Regions from separate parts of the Homo sapiens genome. Here all the other regions are linked to region 2. The links are contacts of gene promoters, found by promoter capture Hi-C in blood cells and fetal thymus (Javierre and others, 2016). All regions are on one chromosome and are shown on one strand. The core of a region is centred on a gene start or on the middle of the fragment in contact, and the rest is flanking DNA. Distances in the headings are between cores, read along the strand shown. Region 1 has its middle 13 kb from the start of RNASE11. Region 2 holds the start of OSGEP (O-sialoglycoprotein endopeptidase). Region 3 overlaps TEP1 (telomerase associated protein 1).

The links. Contacts are between HindIII fragments. The CHiCAGO score rates a contact against its expected background, and 5 or more counts as called.
Region 1: a fragment that was not itself captured here is called in contact with the fragment with the promoter of OSGEP in region 2 in 1 of 17 cell types (megakaryocytes); the score reaches 5.6 in megakaryocytes.
Region 3: a contact is called between a fragment that was not itself captured here and the fragment with the promoter of OSGEP in region 2, in 5 of 17 cell types (M1 macrophages, M2 macrophages, endothelial precursors and 2 more). The highest score is 7.8, in M1 macrophages.

What each region holds. Positions count from the first base shown.
Region 1 is chr14:20,573,929-20,576,628 of GRCh38, forward strand. No RefSeq gene overlaps it. Among named protein-coding and RNA genes, the nearest start is that of RNASE11, 13 kb to the right of the region's middle. The HindIII fragment of the contact is 788 bases long and covers 964-1,751 here.
Region 2 is chr14:20,453,450-20,456,149 of GRCh38, forward strand. OSGEP (O-sialoglycoprotein endopeptidase) reads right to left here and starts at 1,363. Exons shown (of 11, transcript NM_017807.4): 1 at 1,120-1,363. The coding sequence starts at 1,234. It overlaps APEX1 (apurinic/apyrimidinic endodeoxyribonuclease 1), which reads left to right and starts at 1,777. Exons shown (of 5, transcript NM_001641.4): 1 at 1,777-1,945; 2 at 2,129-2,254; 3 at 2,465-2,652. The coding sequence starts at 2,197. RefSeq lists a silencer at 1-13, promoters at 1,276-1,720, 1,350-1,887, 1,552-1,886, enhancers at 1,311-1,400, 1,821-2,040 and cis regulatory regions at 1,347-1,677, 1,608-1,763, 1,634-1,675, 1,672-1,677, 1,688-1,720 and 2 more. The HindIII fragment of the contact is 3,687 bases long and covers 1-1,882 here.
Region 3 is chr14:20,380,786-20,383,485 of GRCh38, forward strand. TEP1 (telomerase associated protein 1) reads right to left here. Exons shown (of 55, transcript NM_007110.5): 27 at 2,389-2,568; 28 at 1,838-1,930; 29 at 1,439-1,571; 30 at 1,128-1,278; 31 at 768-901; 32 at 528-616; 33 at 146-260. Among named protein-coding and RNA genes, the nearest start is that of TEP1, 31 kb to the right of the region's middle. The HindIII fragment of the contact is 2,872 bases long and covers 1-2,700 here.

The sequences.
Region 1 (2,700 bases), core at 108-2,607, 120 kb after region 2:
ATCCCACTGCTGGGTATATACCCAAAAGAAAGGAAATCAATATATCAAAGTGGTATCTGCACGCTTATGTTTATTGCAACACTATTTACAATAGCCCAGTTATAGAATTAACCTAAGTGCCCATCAATGTATTAACAAATAAAGACAATGTAATATATATAAACAATGGAATACTATTCAGCCATAAAAAAAACAATGAACTTCTGTCATTTGCAGCAACATGGATGGAACTGGAGGTCATTATGTGAAGTGAAATAAGTCAGTCACAGAAAGACAAATATTGTACATTTCATTCATATCCAGGAGCTCAAAAAGTTGATCCCATGGAGGTAGAAAGTAGAATGATGGTTACCAGAGACTGGGAAAGGGTGGGAAAGGAGGGGTAAGAAAGGCTAGTTAATGGGTAGAAAAAATACAGTTAAGTAGAAGGAATAATTTCTAGCATTCAATAGCATAGTAGGGTGACTATAGTTACCAATAATTTATTGTACATTTCAAAATAGCTAGAAGAAAAGACTTGGAATGTTCCCAACACAAAGAAATGATAAATGTTTGAGGTAGTGGATATCCTAGTTACCCTAATTTGATATTACACATTGTATGCATGTATCGAAGTATCCAGTGTATCTCATAAGTAGATACAATTATAATGTATTAATTAAAAAAGAAAGGAAAAAAAAAAAGACTGGGAACATCTTCCAGCCAAGATGGATAACACAGACCTGATTTACTTCCCCATCCAAAACCATAAAAAAACTAACAAAAAGCATTAAAACTTATTTTCAAGACACTGAACTTGAGGCCACGAAACACACTCATCATTGAGAGAGAGGAACCAAACAAGGTGAGCCCTACAATCACTCAGCTTGCTGTCTATAGAGATTTTAGGCAAAAGTAAAGGAAGAGTAAACTTAGAGTCTTCAGACTACCTGAGTTCAGGACATGAAACTGAGAGGTCAAAGAAGCTTGAGCCTTTAGGATAGAACATGTGAGATGAGAAAGCTGCATGGAGACATAACCTTAGAGATCTGCACAGGGCTCCTGTAATGGTCAATACCGAGTGTCAACTTGATTGGATTGAAGGATGTAAATGATTGATCCTGGGTGTGTCTGTGAGGGTGTTGCCAAAGGAGATTAACATTTGAGTCAGTGGGCTGGGACAGGCAGACCCACCCTTAATCTGGGTAGTAGTGGTCGATAATTAACTCCGGACTAAGCGCTTCTTCAGAGCTGTCTAACAAATCATAAAGTCAAGATCCAAAAGGATCAAAGTGGTTCCAAGTAGCTTAAACGTATCCTTGAACAACACTCAAGAAGATTTATAGGAATATACAAATATTCCTACAAGGTAAGCCAACAATGTAGAATTCAAAACATCTGAAATCCAATCAAAGATTACCAAGCATGTAAAAGAGCAGGAAAACACAAACCTTTATGAGGAGAACAATCAGTCAATGGAAACCGAACCAGAGCAATTACAAATTTCAGAATTAACAGAGAAACAGTTACCACAACTGAATTCTACACAGGCAAAAGAAAGGGTTGAGTTTTAGATGATTAAAAAAAAAATCAAACTTTTAGAAATAAAAACTACAGTGTGTGAAATTAAAAAAAATATACACTGGTTGCGATTAATGGCAGATTAGAAATTGCATAAGAAAAAAATAGTATACAATAAATGCAAGTAGCCCTGGAGTCTCTAAAGGGGAGAACTGGGGAAATTAAATTTTTTTGAAGATATAATGGCCAAAAGCTTTCAAAACTTGATGAAAAGTATACATTCACAGATACAAAAATCTCAGCAAGTCCCAAGAACAAAACATCAAGGTGTATCATGCTCCAAGTGAGAGGGGGAGAAAACAGTGATAGGGAAAACCTTAGAAGCAATCTTACAAAAAAAGACATTGTTATAGTCAGCGCCAGGCATGGTGGTTCATACCTGTAACCCCAGCACTTTGGGAGGCCCAGGCAGGTGGATCACTTGAGGTCAGGAGTTTGAGACCAGCCTGGCCAACATGGTGAAACCTCATCTATACTAAAAATATAAAAATTAGCAGGGCATAGTGGAGCATGCCTGTAGTCCCAGCTACTCTGGAGGCTGAGGTGGACAAATGGTTTGAGCCCAGGAGGCAGAGGTTGTAGTGAGCCGAGATCGTGCCACTGCACTCCAGCCTGGGCAACAGAGCAAGACTGTCTCAAGAAAAAAAGAAGGCTAGGCACGGTGGCTCATGCCTGTAATCCCAGCACTTTGGGAGGCCGAGGCAGGTGGATCATGGGGTTGGGAGTTCAAGACCAGCCTGGCCAAGATGGTGAAACCCCATCTCTACTAATAATACAAAAATTAGCTGGGCGTGGTGGTGCACGCCTGTAGTCCCAGCTACTTGGGAGGTTGAGGCAGGAGAATCGCTTGAATCCAGGAGGCAGAGGTTGCGGTGAGCCGAGATCGTACCATTGCACTCCAGCCTGGGCAACAAAAGTGAAACTCTGTCTAAAGAAAAAAAAAAAAGAAGAAGATACGTTATGATCAGAGAAACAAAGATAAACTTGACATTAGATTTTTCATCTGAAATAACATAAGAAAGAATACAGTGCAAAAGCATCATTAAAGTTCTGAAAGTATGAAAAATGAAATTCCTGCAGATTCTACACTTTGCAAAAATATCTTTCAAAAACTCAGGCAAAATAAACACAAAACAAAGA
Region 2 (2,700 bases), core at 113-2,612:
TCTGTCTCCCGGGTTCACGCAATTCTCCTGCCTCAGCCTCCCAAGTAGCTGGGTTTACAGGCATGCGCCACCACGCCCAGTTAATTTTTTGTATTTTTTAGTGGAAACATGGTTTCTCCATGTTGGTCAGGCTGGTCTCGAACCCCGACCTCAGGTGATCTGCCTGCCTTGGCCTCCCAAAGTGCTGGGATTACAGGCGTGAGCCACCACGCCCAGCCGTGTTTGGTACTTTCATCTAATCTTCAAGACCTAATGATACAGGTATTATTCCCATTTTAAAAACAAAGACCAGGCCCGAGCGGTGGCTCATGCCTGTAATTTCCACACTTTGGGAGGCTGGGGTGGGCGGATCATCTGAGGTCAGGAGTTCGAGACCAGCTTGGCCTGGTGGAAACCCCGACTCTACTAAAAATACAAAATTTAGCTGGATGTGGTGGCGCACACCTATAGTCCTAGCTACTTGGGAGGCTGGGGTAGAAGAATCGCTTGAACCTGGAAGGCAGAGATTGCAGTGAGCCGAGATCGTGCCACTGCATTCCAGCCTGGGCGACAGAGCAAGACTCTGTCTCAAAAAAATAAAATAAAATAAAAAATAAAGACCAAATGTCCAAAACAAAAATATTTAATATGAATATAGCAAAGCCAGCCAGTTCTGTCTGACATGTAAGCCGGGAGTCTTTCCACTCTCATCTCTCTACTCATCCTAGAATATTTCAAAAAATAATTTTTTTTTAAAAAGGGAGTGTATATTCAGGGCAACTGGAATCTATACTCCTGCTAAGCGTTTTTTAAACAGAATATTTCGAGTCCATCTCTATTATACTGTTTATCATGCTGTAGTATAAACATCTATTTATATGTCTGACTCCACAGCAGTATAACATCTATTTCTGAATACTTAGCACATAAAATGCGCTCAGTAAAAGGTAAATGAACTCATCAGATCCACGTCCAAGTGCCTGTAACTCTTCTAGTCATCAGCCTTGTGACGTTAATAATGTCACATAATTTCAATGAGACTCGGATCGAAAGCTGCACCTCACTAGTATTTAGGAAGATGGAAGGCTGATTCTGTGCGGGGAAGTGCGCGGAAAACTCTTAAGTCCCCTACTCACCAACCTGTGCCAGGAGGCGTGACGTAAGTCCGCCGCGGGTTCGCCAGCACCTTGCCATCCCGCACCACGCCCACGCCAATCTTATTGGCGCTGCCTTCAAAACCCAGCACCGCCGGCATGGCGGAGGCTGGGAGAAAACGCCGACAGGACTCCTGGCAATGTCAGGAGCTGTGGAGGTCCTCACTAGTCCGCGCTGGGCCGCAGCTTTCCGGAGCGCAGAGGAAGCTGGCCAGCCTGCAGATAGCACTGGGAAAGACACCGCGGAACTCCCGCGAGCGGAGACCCGCCAAGGCCCCTCCAGGGACCTGTCTTCCTAACTGCCAGGGACGCCGAGCCAACTCTGTGCCTTACATTCGTATCCGTTTTCCTATCTCTTTCCCGTGGTCCAGCCCAGCCTTCTCCACTGTTTTTTTCCCTCTTGCACATAGTTAGAATCTTAAGTCAGTGTCACACAATGTGCTGTGCATCTGGCACAACGATAAACAGCCCGAGGGAGGGTTGGGGACCTAAGTGTCCTAGAGAATTAGAGGAGGGAGGCGAGGCTAAGCGTCTCCGTCACGTGGTGTCAGACAGACCAATCACGCGCATTCTTCGGCCACGACAAGCGCGCCTCTGATCACGTGACCAGGTCCGCTACCCACGTGGGGGCTCAGCGTGCACCCTTCTTTGTGCTCGGGTTAGGAGGAGCTAGGCTGCCATCGGGCCGGTGCAGATACGGGGTTGCTCTTTTGCTCATAAGAGGGGCTTCGCTGGCAGTCTGAACGGCAAGCTTGAGTCAGGACCCTTAATTAAGATCCTCAATTGGCTGGAGGGCAGATCTCGCGAGTAGGGTACAAGGCACTATGAAATGATCTAGTTTCGTGGGTGAGGGGCTGAAGGGCCTATGATGCACGGAGGCGGGGAAAGGATTTAGAGATAACGTGGTTTGAAAGGCGGGACCTGGTGCGGGGACGCTCTTGGGAGGAGTCTTCTCCCCAGCCTTAGCTGGTTTCATGATTTCTTTGCGTCTGTAGGCAACGCGGTAAAAATATTGCTTCGGTGGGTGACGCGGTACAGCTGCCCAAGGGCGTTCGTAACGGGAATGCCGAAGCGTGGGAAAAAGGGAGCGGTGGCGGAAGACGGGGATGAGCTCAGGACAGGTAAGGGAATGAAATCAGCCCTTCTTCCTAGAAGCTGCGGCGGGGGTGTTTGTCATTCCCTTGATGTACGGTAAGTACGGGCCGACTCATTTTTGCAGGGGTTTGTGAAGAAGTCGCAGGAACCGTAGGCTTTCGTTGGGTCTATAGTTAACGCCGGATCGCAGTTGGAAACCACCAGCTTTTTGTCAGTATATATTACTCATTTTATAGAGCCAGAGGCCAAGAAGAGTAAGACGGCCGCAAAGAAAAATGACAAAGAGGCAGCAGGAGAGGGCCCAGCCCTGTATGAGGACCCCCCAGATCAGAAAACCTCACCCAGTGGCAAACCTGCCACACTCAAGATCTGCTCTTGGAATGTGGATGGGCTTCGAGCCTGGATTAAGAAGAAAGGATTAGATGTGAGTGGAATTTGAGGGAAAGAGACATTTTTTAGTATTGAATGGTCT
Region 3 (2,700 bases), core at 24-2,523, 73 kb before region 2:
CTCTTGGCATTTTCAACTCGAAATGGAAATTTGAATCTTTTTTCCCTGACACCCACACCCCTGCCCCAACCCTGAGCAGGGCCCCCATAAGCACACCCAGGAGTCCCATATCTCAGAGAAGAACCCAGCCAGTGACTCATCTCACCATAGAGGGCATGGGCCTCCAAGAGCCGAGAGACCAGACCCAATTCCAAGTGTGCAGCCACCACATGGAGGTTGGTAAGGAACTTCGAAAGAAGTCCACGGTTCCCGCTCTGGAGCTGAGAAGGTCAGATTGAATTCATTAGGGATATGAAGGGGCTGGTGAGAAGGGACAGTTTAGTCTCAGAACCTGGATACAGAGATAGGATCTGAGCTGGGACAAAGGACTTGAAGAAGAAGGGCAGGAAAACTGAAAGGAAAGAGGTCAAGGGAGTTTGGGAGGGGTAATGGCGGCGGTGATGGTGGAGATGGTAACGGGGAGAGGGGTCTCAGAGCAACCAAAGCACTCACTTTGGGAAAGGTGTCTATGGGGTCTAGGAACTAACCAGGTGGTAAGGCAGGTCTCCCAGAGCCTCAGGAGGGCAACTTCGGAAGGTGCCTGAGGCATCAGCGTCACATGTCTTCCAGAGCTGAGCTGCATGAACAGATATTGAGAAAGGCTCAGCCCTGCATCATTCCCAAGGGCAGTAGGTGAGCTGGCCAGCAGATGGGAGCACAGTGGGTGGTCCTGGCCTCCAGGCCCAAGCCCCACACTCAGTGCCCAGGCTGACTTGGGCTGCAATCACCTGCAATGAGGATGTGTGCCGTGTCCTCTAGCCCTGGCCTCTTCCCATAGCAACGTTTAGCTGCTGTTCTCAGGGGCCCATCAGGGAGGCACAGCCGGGCACCAGGGCGCTCCAGAGGGCCCTCCCCTAGCAAACTGTCCTCGTGTGAGGAAGGGAGAGAGAAGAAGGAAGAGGCCTGTCAGTGAGCTTCCTGGCACACAGTGGGCTCCTATTCCCCCCTCAAATAGCGGAAACTGGAGCAGCTGGAGCAGTAGCTCATTCATGGTCTGGGAGCCAGTTGTTGAAGCTATACAGAGGGCCCCGGCTCAAAGAAGGGAAGGCACAGAGAGGTCAGCGGGAGCTCTGCTGGGGCACCTGTACCTGCGCAGACTCTGGACGAGGCAGGCAAACGGGCCCATGGGGTAGGGGTCTCCACTGTTACCAGCAGCCACTGCTTCTTCCCAGCTCTTAGTCCCCTTCGGTAGTGTCCGCCACACACTCAGCACTCCGTGCAGCTGGTCCACAGTCAAACCTGAAAACTCAAGCTCTCTGAGGCCCTCATCTAACCATACGGTGTCCCCGCCCCCACCACACCCAGTCTCTCCTTGAACTGCCTGCTGAGACCCCAAGGGAACCAATGTAATCCGAACCCTGGCCCTCAGCCTCCCAACCAACCCACCCCAAGCACTGACCACTCCGTGTGACTTCTAGGGCAGTCAAGGCCTGGGGAAGGACATCAGGCCCGTGCTCCTTCTCCAGTGTGCTCAGGATGTGCTGCAGCAGCAGGGGGACAGTGGCAGGCAGGGTCCGGAGTCTCTCAGACACCTAGGATGGCGGGAGGACAGCCTTGTTCAGTGCAGTGGGAGGAGAAGCAGCTTGGCTTGTGGGATAGGGAAGGGGCAGCAGGAGGACAGTGTGGAGGAATGAAAAAGTAAAGAACAACAGTAGGAGGGAAGTGAGGCGAGGTATGAGGCGAGGATAGGGAGTGGGTGATCACAAGACAGCAAAGGACGTGGGATAGGGATGAGACAAAGCAGCTGAAGAGAGAATGGGAAGTAGTGATTAGGACTTGGAAGGTGATGAGAACTGACCTGCTCATACAGCGTGAAGAGCCTCAGGTGATCGGTGACCAAGCGCAGGTAGAGCGGCCGGCCTGATTCCCGCTTCACCAGCAGCAGTCGCATCTGGCAAGACTCAGGACTCAGGGTGGGGTCCAGGAGGGCTGCCCGCAGCCAGCCCTCTGCCCCAGCACCAGCCCCTCTGCCAGGCAGCTCCTCCTCTGAGAGTCCCCAGCAGACGCCAGGTCCATGGCATCATCCCAGGACACAAACCATCCCTCTCCTACGCTGCTCTGCCCAGCCAGCCCTGCCAGAAAACCCCTGTGGCTCGGCCTACCCCACCAAAAACCACTTGACTCATCCCCTCACCCCGAGAGGCCCTGGAAAGGCCATTCACCGGGGGAAGAGGGCTGGGTGACATGATCAGGAATCACAATTTTCTTATTAACAACTTCCCATGGACAGAATTTCTGAGAAAACAAAGGAGCAGGTCTGTGCAAGGCAGCTAGCGGCCTCGGCACCCCAGGTCCTCATAGCTCCCAGATTCACCCCACACACCCACCGGCCCCGGCCTAGAACCCAACCTGGTTGTTAAATGGTGACTCCTCCAGCCGCTTCCCGTACAGGGCCAGCTCCTCTCTCACCAGCCGGGCCCGAGCAGAGGCCTCCAGAGGCCCCAAGGCCAGCACGTGGGCACCCTGGCTCTGCTCAAGGGTCTCCCCTAGGCCTGCATCACTAGACACACTCAGCACCAGGTGTACACACTGTGATATTTGGGCAAAGGGGCAGGAAGGTAGAAAGAAAAGGAGAACCACATTGGAGAGGCCTCTCTCCTCCGTGCCGTATCCCTCCTTCTCCCCAGCCTGCCTCCCGACACCCACCTCCTTCTCACACTC